Linked DNA regions of Homo sapiens: all the other regions are linked to region 2. Evidence: promoter capture Hi-C in 16 types of primary human blood cells and fetal thymus (Javierre and others, 2016). All regions are on one chromosome and are shown on one strand. Each heading gives the region's core, a stretch centred on a gene start or on the middle of the fragment in contact. The rest is flanking DNA. Distances are from core to core; before and after follow the strand shown. Region 1 overlaps GUCY2F (guanylate cyclase 2F, retinal). Region 2 holds the start of IRS4 (insulin receptor substrate 4). Region 3 overlaps GUCY2F (guanylate cyclase 2F, retinal).

Region 1 (3,661 bases), core at 1,077-3,576, 660 kb after region 2:
GAGAATATACAGATATCCTGTTTCCCCTCAAAGTTTTGTCTACTGATTTTGTCATTATTGATGGATATTGCCTAATAGCCAAGTGTCTTGGTGGGAGATTTGGATGGAAGCCTGGAGCATGTCACAGGGAAACAGTGGTAAGGCCTTGACATCCAGAAGCATCATGAGGGATACTAAAATACTTGGCAGGGAGTGTCTCAAAGGAGTAGAGGGGACTGTGAAATTAAAAAGAAAAACAAAAGGGACTGGCATCAGTCCTGTAGGCCCTTGTTTTACATCACAGTCTGAAAAAAGGCCAGCTTCTTGGGTGGCGAAATTTCTTCCAGATGCCTAAAGCTGTCTGGCTATAAGTCCCACCTGTACATAACTTGAGCTGCTTGCAGACTATCAGGCTGTTAGCACTAACACTCTTCTGGAAAATCATGACAGCCTGAGTTGGTCTGATGATCTCGGTCATGGTGGACCCCTGGGGCCCTTTTCTCACCTCCCGCTTACCTTGAGCTGGCAGATCCATCATGCAGAATGGGGTACCCCGGACCATCACTTCTTGCATGATGATGGCAAAGCTATAGACATCTCCTGCAAAAGAACCTAACCTGCTGCCTCTTGGAGCTCTCAACAGTTCAGGGGCCGTCCACAGCAGCTCTAAAAAGAAAGCATTGTGTAATGAATGCAGGGAGGATTAACTGACAATATCTGCAATGCCCTCAAGGGCTCAGAGGGTACTGTTTTATTGACTGCCTTATATTTTTATTAGACAGACTGCCATGCTAGTGCCCCCCATCCCCCAGGGTCTGAATCTATTCTTCTAAGGAATTATGAACAGAGAAAACATACTACTCTCTCCACCCCAGGACCACGCAGGCAGACACAGCAGCGATGTGGGAAAGGGCACAGAAGCTCAAAGTATAGAAATTCTCTGGTGCTTGCTTTCTTGAGCCTGCAAGTAGCAGTTGGCAGGTTTCCAGGGAAAGGCAAGTGTGCTACCACACTGGTTGCCATGGATTTGCTGTTTGCTGAGATCTATATGTGTCTGGTAATTTGATTGTGCTGGGGCTAAGAGATTCACAAGTTGCTTTCTCCAGGTCTCCTCTAAAAGGATTAGAGTTACCCCAGCCTTCCTATTCCTTGCAGTGCAAAAAGGTGCAACAATTCCTTCAACTCAGTTCTGCAAATATTTATTGATGGTCTACTATGTACCATGCCCTGTGCTAGGCACAGAGGTGGTGCTAGAGATGAATCAAACTTGAGGAGTTCACAGACCAGTCGGAAACACAGACATATGCACCCCTAACTGCAATAAAAGAGAGGGAATGATGAGGGCCACTACATAGTAAAGGGAAATGAATCCATTAAAGGTCAAAGTTAAACACCCATTGTGTGCTCTGCTGCATTTCAGGCCCCGTCAGGGACAAAACATTATTTCTGCATTCAGAGTTTATGGCAGTGAGAATGTCAGAAATTTTTCTTGGGTGGGGGGCACTGTAAGCAATGTATAAAGAAATATAATTTAACAATAGAAATACAGTACTCAAAAGCTGGAAGAAGAGTGTTTTAGATTGAATTATATAAAGTTACCATTTCTGTGAATCAAAAACAGTTAGATATTGGCAATTTCATCAGGTTCAAACTAAAAAAAAAACTGAGCTGATCAAATTAATCCAGGAAGACTTCCTGGAAAAGTTAAATTTTAAATGTGCTTGTTAGGAAGGTCAAGGATGCAACTTTCTGGAGCTGAGAAGGTAAGGGCTTTTTTCTCCCTAGAAAGAACAGCATGTGCAAAAGAACAAGAGGCAGAAAGGAGCAAATTGCGGGTGGGGGGATGCCGGGTGGTGGTAAGCAGATTAGCTTGACTGAAGAGAAGGGCTCTGTTAAGGAATAATGAGAAATGAGAAGTGGGGTTGATGAAGTGGGGGAGGGCGGGTGTCTGGAAGAATGGGGGCAGAAGGTGAGAGGCCCTGAGAGCCAAATGAAGGCATTTGGAGTGAATACAAAAGGCAGTAGGGGTGCTGGAGCTGGAGAGGGATTTGATGAAAGCCCTGTTTGGGAAGATTAATCTGGCAACCTGCACAAGCTGGATTGAAGGAGAGAGGCTGGAATCAGGGAGATCAGCTAGGAAGTTATTGCAGTAAGAGCAGGTAGTGAGGTGAGAGGGGCCTAAATGGGGGTGGGGGTAGTAGCAGCAACACAGTCAACCAGATACACTGGAAGGCTACAATGGAGAAGGAAGTGACAGGGCTAAGGATAGGCTCCCTGTGCCTTGAGAATGAGAGGGAGTTGGAGTAAACAACAAGGTGACATCCAGATAGTGAGGTTGGAGACAAATGTCTGCTAAGAGTGAGGGTATCAGGGAGAAAGTAATGGCTAACTTTTCATCTTGTTAAATTTTGGGTATTGGGAAGAGAGTCCAAGAAACAAAGTCCTATGAAATAGGAAGAAGGGTGAAAGGTGAGAGATTATTTTGGTTTGTTAGCAAAACCCAGGAAAGAGAAATCCACCATGGAAATTCTTATTTTCAGCCAATCCTGATCAAAATGGTGAAATAAGAAATTCCAGTTTCACCACCAATCATGTACCCATCTTCTCTCTTTGCTCTTTAAGTGTCCCCAGGCTTTGTCCCCCAACCAGACCCCTCTGAGCTTCCACCCACCATCCACCACTCACTCACACCCATGAAAGTCTCCAAAACACTCACTATAGTGATTTTGCCCCTATGTCTCCCTGCCTAGGAAGATTTATATTTACAAATCAAACGGAAAACAATGAATGATACTTGAATGATTGAATGTCAAAGGAATACATTTATAGTTGCGGGATTTTAGGCACCATGGTTTTGGAGAGGAGTGCAAGGATGAATATTTGAGAGCAGGAAAAATGGCATGTGGCTGCTTCTTTTTGGCATCCTTTCTCCCTGCACATTTAAAAGCACAAGATGGAAAAAGAGGGCAAAACTCTCTGGTAAAAGCTGGGTGATTAAATACAATCATTACAAAATAGTATTTCCAAAGAGCACTTACATGTATGTTGTTAATGGCTATAATGAGGCTTTTCTGCACTATACTTATATAATCGAGAGTGGACAGTAATGAATACATTTACAATCCGCCCCCATTTCCTCATCTCCACTCCAGAACCAAGTAAGAGCCACTAACTACCATTAGAGTTGAACTCTCGGGAAAACTAGAGAAATTACTTTGGTTTGTTTTTTATCTGCTGGAGCCACTATTAACTCTGAGCTTTGCTAGGGTGATAGAATTGACTTTGGAGAGCTACTGTGGTATAGTATAAAAGAACACAGAACTGGAAGTCTAGAGACCCGGGTTCAAAATCTTAGCTTGGTCACCAAGTAGCTACCTTTCTGAACCTTGGCTTCCCTATCTATAAAATGGAAGTTGGGTCAGATGACATCCAATGGCCTTTCAATTATGAGATTCATTTAGCCTCATATCTAAGGTAGGGAGACAAGTTCCTTTATTTCATTTTATTTTGTTCTTTTGTTGATTCAACAAATATTCTGTCAGGAACTGTGAAAGGCACTGAGAAAGGCAAACCTGTTTCCTGCCCCCACAGAGCTTGTAGTTTGGGTGGGGGGAGACAAGGTTAATTGAATGAGTAATGCTAATGAACTATGGTATCACAACAAAGTTCAGGGCCCTGAAGG
Region 2 (3,654 bases), core at 1-2,500:
GCTGTAGCTGCGGCAGCGGGCTCTGTATTCGTCTGCACACAAGGCTCTCATCTTCTCCAAAAACAGCTCATGCATGTTTTGGGCAACCACACAGTCATCGACCTGCATCCAGAGCTCTCCCGGACCGATGACAGTGGACCTGCCTACTTCCAAGAAGAAATACTGCTCCGAGTGTCCACAGCGACGGATGCTCAGGAGCTGGACGACCACGCTGGCCACTTCGGTGTTCAGCCTCACAAACACGACCTCCTCGTCGGTTAGACACAGCCGGAACACGCCGCTCAGCTCTTTTCTGTGCCCCAGCCCCCTGGGTTTGACTATTACCTGCCACACATCTTTATAGAAGGGTGGCTCCGCCGCCGCTGCCGCCGCCAGCGCGGCCGGCTCTCCGTCCGGCTGCGCGCCGAGCGTGCCGCAGCGGCGGCGCTTGCTCTCGAGGATGAGGCGGCTGAGCAGCAAGTACCAGCTTTCCTGCTCCGACTCGTTCTCGGCCACCATCGCGAAGTATTCGTCTTGGGTGAAAAGAGCAATGAGGTGTCGGTACCTTGCATCTGCTCGCTGGCTCACGGAAAAGCACTGGTATAGGGTGATCACGCGCCGCGGTGGAATGAGCGGGGGGATCGCGGCGCCAGAGGCGGCCGCCGCTGCTGCAGCCGCCGCGGCGCGGACACTGTGCCGGAACTTCCTGGCATTTTCGTAGTATTCCAGCCGAGCTGGGGCGTCAGCAGTCTCGAGTTTGAGCACGAAGTAGCGCCTGTGCCCATGCTTCTGTTTCCGCAGGTAGCCGCGTTTGCAGACTTCCTCCCCGACGGGCAGGTCCTCCTCTTCGGACTCGGAGTCTGACCGGGAGCCAGTGGCCGTGGAGAGCCACATGGCTCCCGGACAAGACGACCCGGTCCCAATGAGTGCGGTCGGGGTTCCCGAGGAAAGAAGCGGGGTGGTCACCACTGCTGCTAGAGCTGCCGCTGCCGCCGCTGCTGCACCTCTTAGTCTTCTTGTCGCTTGGTCGCGAGTGAAGGAGCAACTCGCCATGGTGATGCACGATGGTTTTAAGGTGAGCGAGGAGGAGGGGGAATTCAGGAAAGGGAGGGTTGGGGGAAGAGGCTGTCTACCCTCGTCTGCCCGCCCCAGCCCCCTCCTGCCTTGGCCCGCGCCCCCGCCCACTCCACTCTGAGCGCACGACAGCGGGCAAAACAACACGTGACCACAGCCTCACGCGGCGGCCGCTGCGGATCCTGCTACCGGCGCAATGGAGGGGCGCGAGCGGCCACCAGTAGAGGTGAGCAAGGGAGGAGACGGCGGGCTCGGGAGGCGGAGCCACCTCCGGCTGTGCCAAATCCTCCCGGTCAATCTCCAGGCCTGTGGGCCAAGGGAGGACCGAGAGGAGGAGGCGGGCTCTCTGGCCAAGCTGATTCTAACAGGGAGTCCAGGAAGGCATGAGGGGGCGGGAGAAGGCCTGGAGGGGCGGAGGAGAAAGCGGCCGGCTATCAGGGTCGGGAGAGGGCGCCACAGTCGGGGCCCCATTGGTGGGAGGTGGTGGGAGGGGGCGTAGCGCAAGCAGTGCCTGCCTGCGGCGCCAGGGTGCAGAGCGGGCACAGTCGCGGGACAGTTTGTTTGTTTATTTGGGAAGCGGGAGCCAGGTGAAACTGTTGCAAGGCTCTGATTGGTTGGGATAGGAGCCAATGGGAGGGTCCGGCAAGAAGGCAGCCCCGAAATCATTAGTTTGGCGGGAGGGAGGGGTGAGAGGGGAGAGGGGAGAGGGGGCGTGGCTGGGGTCCCAAAGTGGCTTCGCTGTCGGCTTGTGGCGCTCTCAGGCGGTAAACAACCTTACGCAAATAGCTGTTAATGGTGGTGGTAAACTCGTGCAAATCCCAGAGCCGTGGTGACCCGGGATGGAGTCGGGTGCCCTGGTACTCCCTGTCAATCACATAAATTCTCTGTTCCTGTCACAGTCTGGTTCATTCTTTCCAGCCGCACAAGGCGGCGGATCGAGCTTCTTGGGAGAAAGTGTCGGCACCCCCTGAAAACGGGTTGACGACCAGGGCGCTCAGAACTGCTTCCCACCGCTCTGCAGGCACTCCCGAGCCCGCTGCACCCCTGACAGAAGCCCGCGACTCTGAGGCACACGAATAACAGCGATGCATTCAAAATGAACATGATCTTTATTAATCAGAATGCACTTCTAGCCCACGAAACACAGGTTCCCTAAATACAGTGTTTCTGCCTATTTGATTAACGATGACTATGAAAGCACAAATTTGGGGGCCTGCAATGTATACAGCCATATTGGAAAAAATTGGACTCGATTCTTACTGAAATAACCAGTGTTGGGCTGTGAAGGTATTTTTCTGTGGGAAATGCTTTGGAAGGTGCCTTTAAAAGAATCTCAAAATATTGCTTTCCTTTCCTTGAGCGAGACCGAAAAACTTTAGAAAAAGAAAAGCTCATACCTAGAACAAAGGACCACGCTGAATGCATATTCTAGAGCACATTTCACATCCCTCGCGTCAACAAGAAGAAGAAGAGGAGCTTTGATGCATTTCAGTCTACAAGTTGACATCACAAAAGTAAGAACTACTGCCTCCCTCATTTCTGGAAAAACTGCCGGAGTGTAAGTGCAACCTCCTCAAGTCTCTCTCTCTCTCTCCCTCTCCTTCTCCCTTTCCCTCTCCCTCTCCCTCTCTCCCCCACCACCCCAGTTATTACTTGACTAGGATTTTAGACTCTTAATGGTGGAGATGGGTCGTGAATTATCAAAGGAGTGACCAGGTTTGCAAAGAGGAATGGAGGGAGAGGAGGAGAGAAATACAGCATTTCTCTCTGAAAGAATGGAATGTCAGTTCACCCTTGCTCTAGGGTTGATATGGCAAAGGGTACTATTTATAAAATCCAACAGTAAACTAGGCAATATGTATATCATAAAAATAAACCATATTTCTGCCCTCTTAAGAATTTGCTCTGTTAGAAACAGAACACACGTATTTGAATAAATGGCTCCTTTTTGATGCTATAATTTAAGAGAAAAAGAAATTGGTTTGGGTTGTCCCCCAGATATTACAAATATTCAATAACATTCCCTCTGCTGCCAATGGTTTATAAGTGCAATATATTCACAGGTGCTGGAAGCAGCCGTGGTTTCGGAAGGGAGCTAGAGGCAGAACGAGTGTGGATGCTGAGAGATCCCTGACTGTGACTGCTACATATTTCAGCTGCGTAGTCACATATATACAAGATTCCCTGCACTTACAACCAAAATGATAACAAATGCTCTCATTTGGGATTTTGTTTGATAGTCATTAGGATATTTTATAAGTCTTTCCAAGCACAAGGTTTTTTTCTTTTTTTTTTTAAAGAGAAATGTGACAAATAAGGCAACATATTTGAAAGTGCTTTGAGTAATAACATGACATTGAAAATATCAAAATGAATATTAAATGAAATGGGAAAATACTGGAGATTTTTAAATCCTCATGTCCTTTTTCCTGTACATATAGTTTTTACATAGAGCAGTAGGCTTACAATTTATATAATTTTGCATCCTGTTCTTTTCACTGAACATTATACAATATTTCCCCATATTATTATGCATCAGCATAAATATCATTTAAAATACAACATATTATCCAACACAATCGATGAATATTAATGTAATTA
Region 3 (3,453 bases), core at 145-2,644, 640 kb after region 2:
AAAAGTGAACACTATATCAAGCTGTCATCCAGATGTTTTGTCTACCGCCACCATACAGCTTCATCATTGGGAATGTGTGGATGTTTGGCTTGACAGCAACCAAATGTCTGGATGCTCAGTTGAAGATTTTGCTTATCATTTGTGCCCTGATCTTTTGGCATTAGGTAAGCCATTGTCTTCTGTATCTAGAGTACATATATTCAGATTCTACCTACCCGCTTACCGTCTCATTCAATGGCTCTCACCAAACCCAAAAAGAGAGTAGAAATGGAAAACAGGCTGTTAAATTTTAAGCCTAAATTATCCTGGCTATTTTGAGAGGTCTACATTTGTGCAGTGTTCTTTTCTTCCAGCCAAGGGACTCTTACAGGTAGGGTAAGACTCCAGGTTGGCCTCCATCTATAGGTCAGTTACTTGGTTGTCAAGAACCACAAGTCTCAGAAGAGAAAAGGAGTGTAAACTCAAGCTAGTCACCCCAGGGCCTGAGTGATGACCTCAGAGGAGTCAAATTTTCTGCCTCTGTTCTGCCTTTCTCTCTTTCCAGTAAACTTTCCTCTCAATGTGCTTCTCTCTCCTCCTTTCAATTCTCTTTCATCTGTTCTCTCATTTCCTCTAATCCATAAGAAAAAAATGTGTTTACCAAGACTGAGAAAAGTAATGGGATGTGTTTCCAACTCATTAATCTGAAATATGGTCTCACTCACAGCAGCTCTCATTTGGAGCAGTTCTGAATTGTTTAACTTAGAAATTCCAATTAGATTTACCCCTTTAAATATCAAGTCCACTGTTCCCTATTTTATATCACATATATTTATCCCTTAACAATAATGACAAAAACCATAATAATTAGCACATTTAATTGGAGAATCTCAAAGCATTTTGCAAATATTTGATTCAAGGCTTGAACAAGCCTTCTATGAGGCAAGTAGAAAGAGCATACCACTATAGTCCAACCTCCATTAACTGGCATCAGACTCTCCCTAAGCCTCAAATAGTTCAAATAATTGGACTATTTGAGCCCACTCTGTTTTCAGAAGAGGTAAGCAACTTGAAAATATATTCCATCACTCATTCTTTCATTTATTCCACTCCTCCTGTACTAGGGCTGGGAATACAGAGATGGTTCCATCCTTAAGGAACTCACAGTACAGTTAAACACAACCATTAGGCCATGTTATAGGTTCTAAACACATGAAGCCCAACTCCTCTGATTCCAAAGCTTTTTCTTTTTACACAGTACCTAGTGTAGTGTCTTATACAGACAGTTGCCCAGTAAATAATCAGACTGTTTCATTAATTGAAACTCTCAGCCCTTGTGCACTTGGAATACTCAAGACACCACTGGATCTTATTTTGGAAAAACATGCTATTAAAGTTCAAACTCAAGGGCCCCCCACCCTCAGCCATATTTGACTGTTTGTCTTGAGATCTAGAGGCTAACAGAACAGCATGCCAATCCCCAAGGGAGCTTTGTAGAGGGATTGTCCAAAGATTTGGGTGGGTCTTAGGACACACTGGGATGCCAAAACTAATGGTTGCAAAAGAGGATAGAAGTGTTATGGACTCAGGCAAGCTTCCAAATCAAAGAGTATGCAGGGGAGCTCCAGGGGCTCTCTGAGGTTTTGGAGTCCATCCAAAAGAATTCTTAGAATCCCAGTTCTCTGTTTACCTACCTGACTTCCACAATTTTGCTAAAGGGAGAAAAAGAGAGAAAACAAGTATGGCAACAACTAAAGCCTGAACCAAACTCTTTGACCCAATATCAATCCCCAAGCAGTCCTAGAGATCCCCCATATAAGAGCATCTTACTTTGGCATGATGCTTATGAGACATTTTGGTATCTCCTATCTTATTTAATCCTCACAAAAATCTGGAATGTAGGTTAATTATTAATCTCATTCTGCGAATGGGGACACTGAGATTCCTGGAGATTAAATGACTTGTCAATAAATAGGCACAGCTGGGACTTGAAACCAGCTCTACTAGACACCAAATTTTAAATGCTCTTCCTTCCATACCACAAAGCTTCTCCAACACACTGGAGTCAAAAGGCAGATCTAGAGGCCAAAAAGCAACTATTGGGAAATTTGAAGCTTGTGAGATTAATGAGCTTCCTGATAACCACAAGTCAGATGAGGCCTCTATGTGGACAAACGAAAGCACAGAGAGAGGGTGAAATTACTTGTCTGATGTCAGACATTAAGTCAGTGATGGGGCAAGAATTTGAGGCAAAACTTTCTGACCTTCATGGATCTGTCAGTACAATCTCACTATTTCTTAATTGCCTGTCTGTGTGCATGTGTGTGCTCATAGACATGCTCATACACACACTGCTTGTGTGTGTATGCTGGGGTTGGGATATGAGTGGGAAAGACTGGGGAAAATAAAACAAATACTAATACTTAGGAACCTGAGAACCAAATACTGTTTAACCCCAGAATTCAAAGACAAGTTCAGAAAGTGCCCACTTCTAGAATGTAAATTAGTACAGCCATTATGGAAAACAGCATGAAGATTCCTCCAAAAAGTTAAAGTAGAATTACCATATGATCTAGCAATTCCACTTCTGGGTATTTACTCAAAATATTGGAATCAGTCTGTCAAAAAGATATCTGCACTCCCATGTTCATTGCAGCACTAGGCACATTAGCCAAGTTATGGAATTAACCTGTTTATCAACAGATGAATGGATAAAAAAAATTTAGTGTATACATACAATGGAATACTATTCATCCTTTAAAAAGAAAGAAATTCTATCACTTGTGACAACATGAATGGAATTGAAGAATATTTGCTAAGTGAAATAAGCCAGGCACAGAAAGGCAAATACTGCATGTTTTCACTTATATTTGGAATCTAAAACAATTGAATTAATAGAAGCAGAGAGTAGAATGGTGGTTACAGAAGCCAAAGGTGGGTGAAATGAACAGATGATGGTGTAAGAACACAAAATCTGTTCAGTGAGGAAGAATATGTGTGATTTTTTCAGCTCTATTGCATATCATGGTGAATATAGTTAATAATGCTGTACATTTCAAAATCACTAAACGAATGCATTTCAAATGTTCTCACCACAAAAAAAAAATGTTAAGTATTTGAGGTGATGGCTATGTTAACTAGTTTGATTGAATTATTCCACATTGTATTAATAAATCATAACATCACTTTGTACCCCATAAAGTACACAATTATTAATTGTCAGTTTACAATAAAAAATTACAAAATATTTTTAAAGTGTCCACCTCTGGCAACAACATAAACTGGCTGAAGAGCAGTCATTTGAGAAAGTCTCCCCAGAATGTAAATCTACCTAAAAGTTTCTGGTAAATACAGCTGATAAGCCTAGATATATACAAAAATCTCAGCAAGGAGCCCCACACTTGTCAGAAAAATAGTGACTGAAACAGGACTCATGTACGAGAAAAGGTAATACAGTGATTTATCACTAGCCCA

The links. Contacts are between HindIII fragments. The CHiCAGO score rates a contact against its expected background, and 5 or more counts as called.
Region 1: a fragment that was not itself captured here is called in contact with the fragment with the promoter of IRS4 in region 2 in 1 of 17 cell types (M2 macrophages); the score reaches 5.9 in M2 macrophages.
Region 3: a contact is called between a fragment that was not itself captured here and the fragment with the promoter of IRS4 in region 2, in 2 of 17 cell types (endothelial precursors and M2 macrophages). The highest score is 6.6, in endothelial precursors.

Annotation. Positions count from the first base shown.
Region 1 is chrX:109,398,054-109,401,714 of GRCh38, forward strand. It overlaps GUCY2F (guanylate cyclase 2F, retinal), which reads right to left. Exons shown (of 20, transcript NM_001522.3): 11 at 496-645. Among named protein-coding and RNA genes, the nearest start is that of GUCY2F, 82 kb to the right of the region's middle. The HindIII fragment of the contact is 7,530 bases long and covers 1-3,661 here.
Region 2 is chrX:108,735,313-108,738,966 of GRCh38, forward strand. It overlaps IRS4 (insulin receptor substrate 4), which reads right to left and starts at 1,251. Exons shown (of 2, transcript NM_001379150.1): 1 at 1-1,251. The coding sequence starts at 1,032. It overlaps IRS4-AS1 (IRS4 antisense RNA 1), which reads left to right and starts at 1,228. Exons shown (of 3, transcript NR_110652.1): 1 at 1,228-1,279; 2 at 1,953-2,567; 3 at 3,117-3,591. The HindIII fragment of the contact is 14,686 bases long and covers 1-3,654 here.
Region 3 is chrX:109,376,310-109,379,762 of GRCh38, forward strand. The region is part of intron 17 of GUCY2F (guanylate cyclase 2F, retinal); the gene reads right to left. Among named protein-coding and RNA genes, the nearest start is that of GUCY2F, 100 kb to the right of the region's middle. The HindIII fragment of the contact is 354 bases long and covers 1,218-1,571 here.